2 separate regions of the Homo sapiens genome follow, and region 2 is linked to region 1. Evidence: promoter capture Hi-C in human tissues and cell types (Jung and others, 2019). All regions are on one chromosome and are shown on one strand. The core of a region is centred on a gene start or on the middle of the fragment in contact, and the rest is flanking DNA. Distances in the headings are between cores, read along the strand shown. Region 1 holds the start of OLFML2A (olfactomedin like 2A). Region 2 overlaps MVB12B (multivesicular body subunit 12B).

The links. Contacts are between HindIII fragments. The study calls those that stand out against the background at their distance.
Region 2: a contact is called between a fragment that was not itself captured here and the fragment with the promoter of OLFML2A in region 1, in 1 of the 25 tissues and cell types used here (dorsolateral prefrontal cortex).

The regions. Positions count from the first base shown.
Region 1 is chr9:124,775,176-124,780,276 of GRCh38, forward strand. OLFML2A (olfactomedin like 2A) reads left to right here and starts at 1,958. Exons shown (of 8, transcript NM_182487.4): 1 at 1,958-2,185. The coding sequence starts at 2,096. RefSeq lists silencers at 1,862-1,961, 2,032-2,331. The HindIII fragment of the contact is 24,652 bases long and covers 1-5,101 here.
Region 2 is chr9:126,476,668-126,481,768 of GRCh38, forward strand. It overlaps MVB12B (multivesicular body subunit 12B), which reads left to right. Exons shown (of 10, transcript NM_033446.3): 8 at 4,702-4,757. Among named protein-coding and RNA genes, the nearest start is that of NRON, 69 kb to the left of the region's middle. RefSeq lists an enhancer at 1-258. The HindIII fragment of the contact is 8,937 bases long and covers 1-5,101 here.

The DNA.
Region 1 (5,101 bases), core at 708-3,207:
CACTGCACTCCAGCCCGGGCGACAGTGCAAGACTCTGTCTCAAGAAAAAAAAAAAAAAAAAGAAGCAGCAGCAGCTTATTTGTACTCAGTGTGTGCTTTGCACAGGGTTCTTTAATTCAGCTGAGAGTTGTAGAGCACCGTACCTTGTGCCAGGTCAGTGGTTCTCAAACCCTAAGCCCCCTGGAGCCCTGGAGGGTGTGTTAAAACACAGATTGCTGGACTCCATGCCCAGAGTTTCTGATTTTGTGAGTCTGTAGTGGGGCCTAAGAATTTGCATTTCTTTTTCTTTTTTTTTTCTTTGAGAAGGTCTCGCTCTGTCACCCAGGCTGGAGTACAGTGTCACGATCTTGGCTCACTACAGCCTCTGCCTCCTGGGTTCAAGTGATTTTTGTGCCTCAGCCTCCCAAGTAGCTGGGACTACAGGCATGTGCCACCACGCCCAGCTAAGTTTTGTTTTTTGGGTTTGTTTGTTTGTTTTTGAGACAGAGTGTCACTCTTGCCCAGGCTGGAGTGCAGTGGTGCCATCTCGGCTCACTGCAACCTCTGCCTCCCGGGTTCACAAGCGATTCTCCTGCCCCAGCCTCCCGAGTAGCTGGGATTATAGGCATGCACCACCACATCAGCCTAATTTTTGTATTTTTAGTAGAGGCGAGTTTTCACCATGTTGCCCAGGCTGGGAGAGTTTGCATTTTTAACAAGTTATCCGATGATGCGGAGGCTGAGACCAAGGACCACACTTTGAGAACCACTGAGTTCAATGTTCATGGGGAGAAACTAAGAATGTGCCCTAGGAAGTCATGCTCCAACACAAGGAAACAAACACACCAACAAGAAAGACAGTCCCATTGAGCAATAAATTCTATGAAGAAAATGAGACCAAGCATGGTGGCTCACACTTGTAATCCCAACACTTTGAGAGACTAGGGTGGCTGGATTGCTTGAGCCCGGGAGTTTGAGAGCCTGGGCAACACAGAAGACCCCATCCCTAAAATAAATACAGAAATTAGCCAGCATGGTGGCACATGCCTGTAGTCCAAGTTATTCAGAAGGCTGAGGGAGGAGGATAGCTTGAGCTGGAAAGTTGACGATACAGTGAGCTGTATTCGCAACACAGCACTCCAGCCTGGGTGACAAAGGAAGACCCAGTCAAAAAAAAAAAAGGAAATGCTGGGTGCAGTGGCTCATGCCTGTAATCTCAACACTTTCGGAGGCCAAGGTGGGAGGATTGCTTGAGCCCAGAAGTTCAAGACCAGTCTAGGCAACAGAGTGAGACCCCGTCTCTGCAAAAAAAAAAAAAACTTTAAATTAGCCAGGTGTAGTGGTGCACACCTGTAGTTTCAGCTACTCAGGAGGCTGAGGTGGGAGGATCACTTGAGCTGGGAAGGTCAAGGCTGTAGTGAGCTGGGATCGCACCACTGCACTACGGCCTGGGCAACAGAGTGAGAAAAATAAAAATTTAAAAGCCGGAAGCTACTGGAGTTTGGGAGCCGACAGGAGGGATTCCAGAGGGAAGGAGAAATGAAAGACGGAAGACAGGTTGGGGTTGCTGAGCCTTGGGAAGGCTTACAGCAGTCAGGTCCCTGTCCAGAAGTGGGTGAAATCGGAGAGCGCAAGGGCTCACGTGCCCTGGGAACATCCGTCTCTCATGCGAACTTTACAAACACTCCAAAAGGAAAGCACGAGTCCCCCATCTTACAGATGAGGAAACTGAGGCACACAGGTGAAGGGACACGCCCAAGGTCCCACGACTCACAGGACAGGACCTGAGTCCGTGAGAGGAGCCCACGCGCCTCGCCCTGGCCCCGTTGCTCCTGCCGGCTGCGATCGAGACCCACCCTGGCGCGCGGGCAGGGATGCCCTTGGGAGAGCCGCCCGACGACGGGGAGGCCCCGCGAACGGCGGGCGGGGCGGGGCGGGGTGCCCCCTCCGCCCTAGCTCCGCCCCTGGCGGCGCTGGAAGACCCGCGGGGCTGGCAGCAGGGTGCAGGCGCGGGGCGCGGGGCAGGCAGAGCGGGCGAAGGCGCGGAGCTCGCAGTGCAGCCCGCGCTTCCCAGCGTCCGTGCCCGGCCGCCTGTGCCTACCGTGCCCGTGGCGCCATGGCCGCTGCCGCCCTCCCGCCCCGGCCGCTGCTCCTTCTGCCGCTAGTGCTGCTGCTGAGCGGCCGCCCCACGCGCGCCGACAGTAAGGTACGCACGCCCCTCGGACCCGCGCGGCTCGGCGGGTAGCGGGGCGCGAGGGGGCGCTGTGGCTGGGGTGCGGCCCGGGAGGGAGCCCGGGGCCAGGGCGGAGGAGCCGGGAGCTGAGAGACCGAACCTGGGACTTCTCAGCACTGAAGCCGCAGGGGCAGGGGCCCCGAGAGAGGGGCGCGTGGAGGAACAAGCGCTGGAGATGTAGGGATGCTAGGGACCCGGGGCCTGAGGAAGGGGCGCTGGGACCGGGTCCGATTCCCGGAGGGGTCGGGGGATTTCCCCGGAGTGCTGGCCAGACTCGGGGTTCGTAGGGGAAGCTCCTGGCAACTGTTACCCAACGACTCCCAGGCTTGCAGCAAGCCCTGGGCCACGGCTTTCACGGCCCGCTGGGGACTGGGGGTCTTCTCTACCCGATGAACGCAGCCGCGCTGGCCACTCGCCTGGCCTCTGATGTTCTTGCCAGGGACCGGGTGCACCCCCTGGAGGACTAGGTAGCTCCAGAAGTGGTCTGAGCTGTTCTCTGCTGTGGCTAAGAGGATCTGCTCTGGTGTCAAGCCGACCTGGGTTCAGTCGCACATCCGCTTCTCATCCGCCATCGCCCATCTGAGCCTCCGTCTATTCACCTGTAGATACAGGGAGAATCATGGGACCCACTTCCTGCAGTTGATGGTCTCTAGATGCGGTGTGGTCATGCCTGTAAAGTACTTAGCACTAGGCCGGGCGCGGTGGCTCACGCCTGTAATCCCAGCACTTTGGGAGGCCGAGACGGGCGGATCACAAGGTCAGGAGATCGAGACCATCCTGGCTAACACGGTGAAACCCCGTCTCTACTAAAAATACAAAAAAAAGTAGCCAGGCATGGTGGTGGGCGCCTGTAGTCCCAGCTACTCCGGAAGCTGAGGTAGGAGAATGGCGTGAACCCGGGAGGCGGAGCTTGCAGTGAGCCGAGATCGCGCCACTGCACTCCAGCCTGGGCGACAGAGCGAGACTCCGTGTCAAAAAAAAAAAGAAAAAAAAAAAATACTTAGCACCAGAGCACTTGGGGTGTTCTGGAAATGACTCCCTGATGGCCAGGTTCAGTGGCTCACACCTGTAATCCTAGCACTTTGGGAGGCCAAGGCAGGTGGATCGCTTGAGGCCAGGAGTTCAGGACCAGCCTGGCCAATATGGTGAAACCCCATCTCTACTAAAAATACAAAAATTAGCTGGGCGCAGTGGCACAAGACCAGTCTAGGCAACAGAGTGAGACCCCGTCTCTATAAAAAAAAAAAAAATTAAATTAAATTAGCCAGGTGTGGTGGTGCACACCTGTAATCCCAGCTACTCGGGAGGCTGAAGCAGGAGAATCGCTTGAACCCAGCAGGCGGAGGTTGCAGTCAGTGGAGATTGCGCCAGTGCACTCCAACCTGGGGAACAGAGCAAGATTGTGTCTTAAAACAAAACAAAACAAACAAAAAAAAAAACGGACAGACCTTGGGGAGAGTGAGGAGCAGGACCAGAGCCCTGGTCACAGAGCGTGAGGGCAAAAAAGTGACTTCCAATACCTCTCCAGCCTCTTTCCTGGTAGAATGTGAGTGTCCTGCCTGCCCACGGACAGATAAAAGACAGAAGCCACTAGCCACACGGTGAGTATATGAGCAGTGGGCACTGGCCAACTCTCAGCCTGATTCAGCTCAGGGCATGAAAGCACCCACGTACAACGCTGCTCATGTACTCCAGAGACAAGGAGGGAATGAGTATTTTTTCTAATTTACAGGTGGGGAAACTAGGGTGTTTACAGAGGCAGCTGGCTTGTACATTTAAAACCCTAGGTTCTGGCCTTCCTCTGCTATTCTTCTGCTGTGTGACCTTGGGCAAATCACTGCCTGTCTCTGGGCTTCAGTTTCTTCATCTAAGAAACATCTCCCCAACCTTCCTTCCATATGGGGCCCTCTGGGATTCCCTGATCTGGCTCAGGTATGATGACAAGTGAGTAGAAAATCCTAGGTAACCTGATCAGTGCCTTGTCACCACTGGGATCTCTGGCTGGGAGGGATATTTGGTGTTGGGCATCGTCTGTGCAGAGAGCTGTAGAGCTTGTGGGGGAGAGCTCACATTCTAAACAAAGCAGAGACAAAGAAAACCCAACACCCTGTTTGTGTAGTGAGTCAGCCAAACACTTGCTAGGTTGTGTGTGTGTGTGGTGGGGGGGGGGTGTTTAGCTGTCCCAGGACAAGCTGGGGCTGGTGGGGTGGAGAGGCACAACCTAGAGCTTGCAGGATGAACAGCTGGGGGACTCAGCACAGCCCTCCCCCAGACACCTCCCACCCCCAAACCACTTCAGCCAGCTGGGAAAAATAAAAATCAAGTGATGGGTGAATTTACTCTGCATTCCTTAGCTGAGCCAGACTCCTGCTGGCTCTGCAGAGAGAGCTGTTTTCATTATCACTCGCTCCTTCCCCCATCACAACCCCGCCTTCCTCTCCAAGCCCATTCCGTTTTCCCTGGGGTGGAGGATGAGCCCTTCGGAGGGCCAGCCTGGGACTTGAAGTCAATGTAGGGCCCTAAAGGGTTAAGTTGGCCCCTCCTTGGGCTTCCTGTTCCTGGGAGCTCTAGTCTGCCCTCTGGCCCAGCACATTCAGGGGTCCAGGGCAGCTCACCCCAGGACTCTGTTGGTCTCCTTGGCCAGCTCCTTGCTCAACGTGTTTTCATTTCATGTTTATAACTAGGTCTCTCCTAAACTGGATTTTGAGTTTCCATCTAAGGAAGTGCTTTGTCGGGGCTGGGAGGAGGAGGGGGACCCCACAGCTTCCCTGGTATTTCTGAAGGGCTGCCCAGCACAGAGGTTGGAATGGACAGGTAACCACATGACACCCAGGCATAGCACCGCAGACCTCTGGGGAGCTGCTTCTTGCTGTGGGTTCTTGGAATGTG
Region 2 (5,101 bases), core at 1,870-4,369, 1.7 Mb after region 1:
AGATCGAGACCATCCTGGCTAACACGGTGAAACCCTGTATCTACTAAAAATACAAAAAAATTAGCCGGGCATGGTGGCGGGTGCCTGTAGTCCCAGCTACTCGGGAGGCTGAGGCAGGAGAATGACGTGAACCCAGGAGGAGGAGCTTGCAGTGAGCCAAGATTGCGCCACTGCACTCCAGCCTGGGAGACAGAGCGAGACTCCATCTCAAAAAAAAAAAAAAAAAAAAATGTAAATCTATAATCTATGTAAAGGTATATTTTTACATAATATATGTGATATATATATATTTGTGTGTTAGGCTGTTCTTATGTTGCTATAAAGGAATACCTGAGACTGGGTCATTGATAAAGAACAGAGATTGAATTGGCTCTTGGCCCACGGTTCTACAGGCTGTGCAGGAATCATGGCACTGGCATCTGCTTCTCGGGAAGCCCCAGGAAGCTTCCAGTCATGGTGGAAGGTGAAGGGGGAACAGGCGTATCACATGGCCAGAGCAGGAGTGAGAGAGAGGGCCAGGGGAGGTGCCATGCACTTAACCAGATCTTGTGAGAATCACTCACTACCGTGAGAACAGCACCAAGCCATGAGGGATCCACCTCCATGACCCAAACACCTCCCACCAGGTCTCGATCTCCAACATTGGGGATTACATTTTAACATGAGACTTGTCAGGGACATATATCTAAACTATGTCAATATATGTACAAAAAATGCTATTGTTGATATCTAAGTTTTACAAGTGTATAGTCCATTTTCATACTGCTATGAAGAAATACCTAAGACTTCATAATTTATAAAGAAAGAGAGGTTTAATGGACTCACAGTTCCACATGGCTGGGGACACCTCACAATCATGGCAGAAGGCAAAGGAGGAGCAAAGGCATGCCTTACATGGCAGCAGGCAAGAGAGCATGTGCAGGGGAAACTCCCCTTTATAAAACCATCAGATCTCATGAGACTTATTCACTCTCATGAGAATAGCATGGCAAAAACCCGCCCCCATGATTCAATTACCTCCCACTGGCTCCCTCCCACAACTCGTGGGGATTATAGGAGCTACAATTCAAGATGATATTTGGGCGGGGACATAGCTAAACTATATCAACAAGTTACTTTTTTATCCTTGATTTTTATTTAAAGCCCTAAACTCAGAGCAGCCAGCCTGGGCAACCCATTCTTCCTCATCTCCTCTGCTGACTAGCAAGGCAAGAGCGCAGCGTGACAGGAGGCCTGGCTACTGTAGTCAGAAAGCCAGGCTTACGGGACCACCTATGTTTCTAGATCCTTCTCTTTCAAAGACGTGATCATCAGTTGGAAGGAGAAAGAAACACACGCTCCTTGTGGGAGCAGGGAGAAACTGCTTCATGGGTGAGGGGTTTGGCTTTGGAGCGATGGAAATATTTTGGAACTAGATGGAGGTGATGATCGCACACCATTGTGAATGTTCTAAATGCCACTGAATTGTTCACTTTAAAATGGTTAATTTTATATGAATTTTTTAAAACATTTCCCTCCCTGCTTAGATCTTCCTAGTTCCTAGAAGTGATTCCCAGGCTTCTTCCATCCATGGCTTTCATCTCCAGCAGCAGCAGGCGGGGGTAGCAGTGAGCAGGGTCCCCAGGTCCTGAGAGAGTTAGGCACTTGCCCCAGGCTGGAGCCCTCTACCCAGTTCCCCAGATCCCCGTGCATGGGAACAGCAGCCCTCCCTGTCCAGCACAGCCCCTGAGCCCCCAGGCCCTGCCCCTGGGCTGGGGACCTGGAATGCAGAGGTGACTCGCACATGCACCTACAATAAGAGGAGAGGAGACACGGGCCTGGCCAGACCCCAGGGAGGACCTCGGGGAAGGCATGCTGCAGGAGAGGCACTCAGAAGACTGGGAAGGACAGTTGAGGTACAAGCATAGAGGGAGGGAAGGGATGGGTAAGCCGGGAAGAGGGTCAGGTGCAAGGGGCCAGGGCCTTCAATGCCAGTCGAGACCCCCATCTTGGAAATCCTGCCCTTCTCTGTCCATTGGAGGCACAGGCAGTACTGACAGCCTCTGACTAGGGAGGCCTCCCATGGGAGGAGCCCCCTTCCTCTCTGCCACCCCCAGTACTTCTCAGCCCCCTCAGTTCCTGATGTAATCAGGTCTTTGCACATCACCTTACCACCTTCGTAACACACAGGATCCCTAGACATACAGTGACATGTAGATAGAAACAACTGTCACCAGTGAGAGGCAGTTCTTCACTCCCAAATACTAATAAGGTCTTTAAAACATCAGAGGCAGAAAGTCTGGGGAATGAATGGTGAGTGGGTTCTGCAGGGGAGCAATTGCCAGGGCCTGTGCACAGTACCTGGGCGTGCAGAGAGGACTCTGCTGTGGACCCTGCTGTCTGTCTAGCAGGCAAGAGAAGCTGTGGAAGAGATGGATGTGGGCAGAGAGTGGGAAGTGAGGACCATGACAGGTGAAGAGTGGGCTTCGGGACTTTACTGGGGAGGTCAAGTAGCCTGTACTATCCAGAGCTTTGGGGCCACTGCTGCCTACCTTTGTGACCCCAGCAAGCACCGACTTCTCAGAGCCTCTGCTTCCCAATCTCTAAAATGATCGGAAGTGTTACGAGTGCCCGGCCCATCTCAGCAGCACTAGGAAGGGCATGGAAGTCAGGTCAGGCAGATGGTGGTGGGAGCTGGCACACCTCTTCCTGGATATCCGGTGGGACTTGACTCTGCCCTTCTCTAGAAGGCTTTGTGGCTCTTCCAGACTCCTTTATTCATTGCTGAACTTTTTCATCTGTGAAGCAGCATACACGCATAGGTACTTAGAGTTCACACACAGGTCTGCACGCGGGATGTACTGAACGAGATTGAGGCCCAAATGCGGGACGTACTGAGTGAGATTGTTTGGGGCCTTCCCCTCACCCCACTTTCTGGGGAAGTGTTGCCTGTTCGGGACTTTTGTCCCATCTCTTCCGTCAGCTCACAGCAGGTTGCCAGCACCACCTGAAATGGGAGAAGGCCTCTGACCAGGAGTCTCTGTCTAAGTCCAGCAGCCACACTGGGCAGCGGCCCTTCCAAGAGAGGAGGGCGCGGGGAATGCAGCGACTGCCGCCACCTGTGCTGTGTCTTTTTCTTCATGCTGATCCAAGAAGGTTTCGTTTCTTTCCTTCCCTAAAATAAAGTGTGAGCAGAGTTCTATGATGTTTTATCCCTGTATGAACGTAGCATGAGCCATTCGGCTTTTCTTGCTGATTGGGAGGATCCGTTCCAGGTTTTTTCTTCTCTTATGTCCTTTCCTCTTGCTTTGCTGCTTTCTGCTTCTGCTACTCTTCTGTGTTAGGACTGAGAAAGAAAAAATATGACCACTGAAGGTTCCAGAGAAGTCATCATTCCAGGAGACACTGGGGGAAGCAAAGATTGTTGGTCCCAGGAGCGCACTGCCCGACGCTGCCCCCATGCTCTACCTTGCTTCCATTGTGCTCACTCCGTTTCTCCCTGAAACCACAATTTACTGCATAGCCACCACCTCAGGGTGCGGCCACCCCTGACTTCGGGGCTCCGCGTCCCTGCACTCATGACCAGGCCCCTAACAACTGCGGCTGCATGTTCCCGACTCTTCCCAGACCTAAGGGAGAAGCCAACACTGGAAAGGCCCCTACCACTGTCCCAGCAGCCGCATGGCTGCCACGTTGGCTCTGTGAATGCCGGCATCACGTCTCGTCCAGTGTGACCTGTTCCTCAATGTGGCAGGATTTCCAGTCCTGGTGTGGCACCAGAGTCCTCCTCTCTGAGGTTATAATTCATAGAGAAGTGCTCACTTACGGAGGCACACCCTGGGTCGTTTCTGTCCGTGTGCTTTTGAAAGCGATCCCCTGGGACAGGGCGGAGGGAGGGGTGGCCACAGAAAAGGAACCAGGCCCCTGGTTTCTCCATCGTTGCGTCCCCGTTCCATGCCCTTTTTCTCGTGTCCTGTTAAAATTGAGCACACTGGTGAGCCTCTAGTCAGCCCTTGATGCCCTGGGTCTGAGTGACTGAGAGCGACAGCCACTGTTGCCCCCACATGCCAAGCACCTGCTCTGTGCCAGCGCTGGCCAGGTGCCCCACACACTCCACTTCTGATGCACAGGCACCCTGTCATGTAGGTGGCGCCATCTTTTTAAATGTGACTTCAGTTTTTCGTCTTTCAACTTCAGTTGCTCATCTGCAGTCACCAGCTGGGATTTGAACCCAGCCAATCTGACTCCTGAGCTCCTCTTTCCTCCCACTTAGTCTTTTCCCCTGAGTCCAACAGCACCTTAGAGCATGTCTAATGCACGTGCTTACTGCCTTCATCTCATTGCAGCCTGTCCCTGCCAGCTGTGTCACCTTCATCCTGCTGCCAGCCCCTGGTGACTCTCCCGTTACAGATCAGAGACCAGACTCCAGGGGTGGAGAGTAGGGGTTCTGGACCAGCCGCTCTCTGCTCCTAGAGCTCTTGTCTACACAACTGCCTGGTGCTCAGGGGATGACGAGGCGCCTGCCTCTCTCAGTAGGTTGTGTGTCCTGGCAGCAGGGGTGGGACCTGTCCTCTTTCATAGCTCCAGCACATCTGTGCTGGATGTCACCTGGCTCCATCCAGTGACGGATTCATATTCTCTGTTTCGACATCTTCAGTTGCTGGACAACTAAATGCCATCTTCAATACCTTTAATGCCATCTTTTTTTTTCTTCTTTTGCAGCAATGGATGGTGTGCCTTTTATGATTTCAGAGAAGTTTTCTTGTGTTCCAGAAAGTGTAAGTTTTATGCATGATCGCCCTTCCCCTCTGCCACCCCCCAGCCTGAGGTCCCTCCATCCTGATTTACACAGCACGCAGGGCTGTTCTGGCAGTACTCACGCCCCTTCCCCTACCGGAATCTTGTCCGCCTGCGTGTCCTCTCTCCCACTGGAAGCTGAACCCTGCAACCCAGTGACAGGAACTCCTGAGGTTGGGGGGTGGGTCGTGTGCATCTCTGGCCCTATCAGCCAGTGCCCCATGTAGTAGGTGTTTGAGAAATGAAGAAAACAACAGCTGGGGGATGGGAAAGTAGCAAGAGGCTGTCAGACAAGCTCAGGTGCACTGAGCCTTTGCCATGCCGC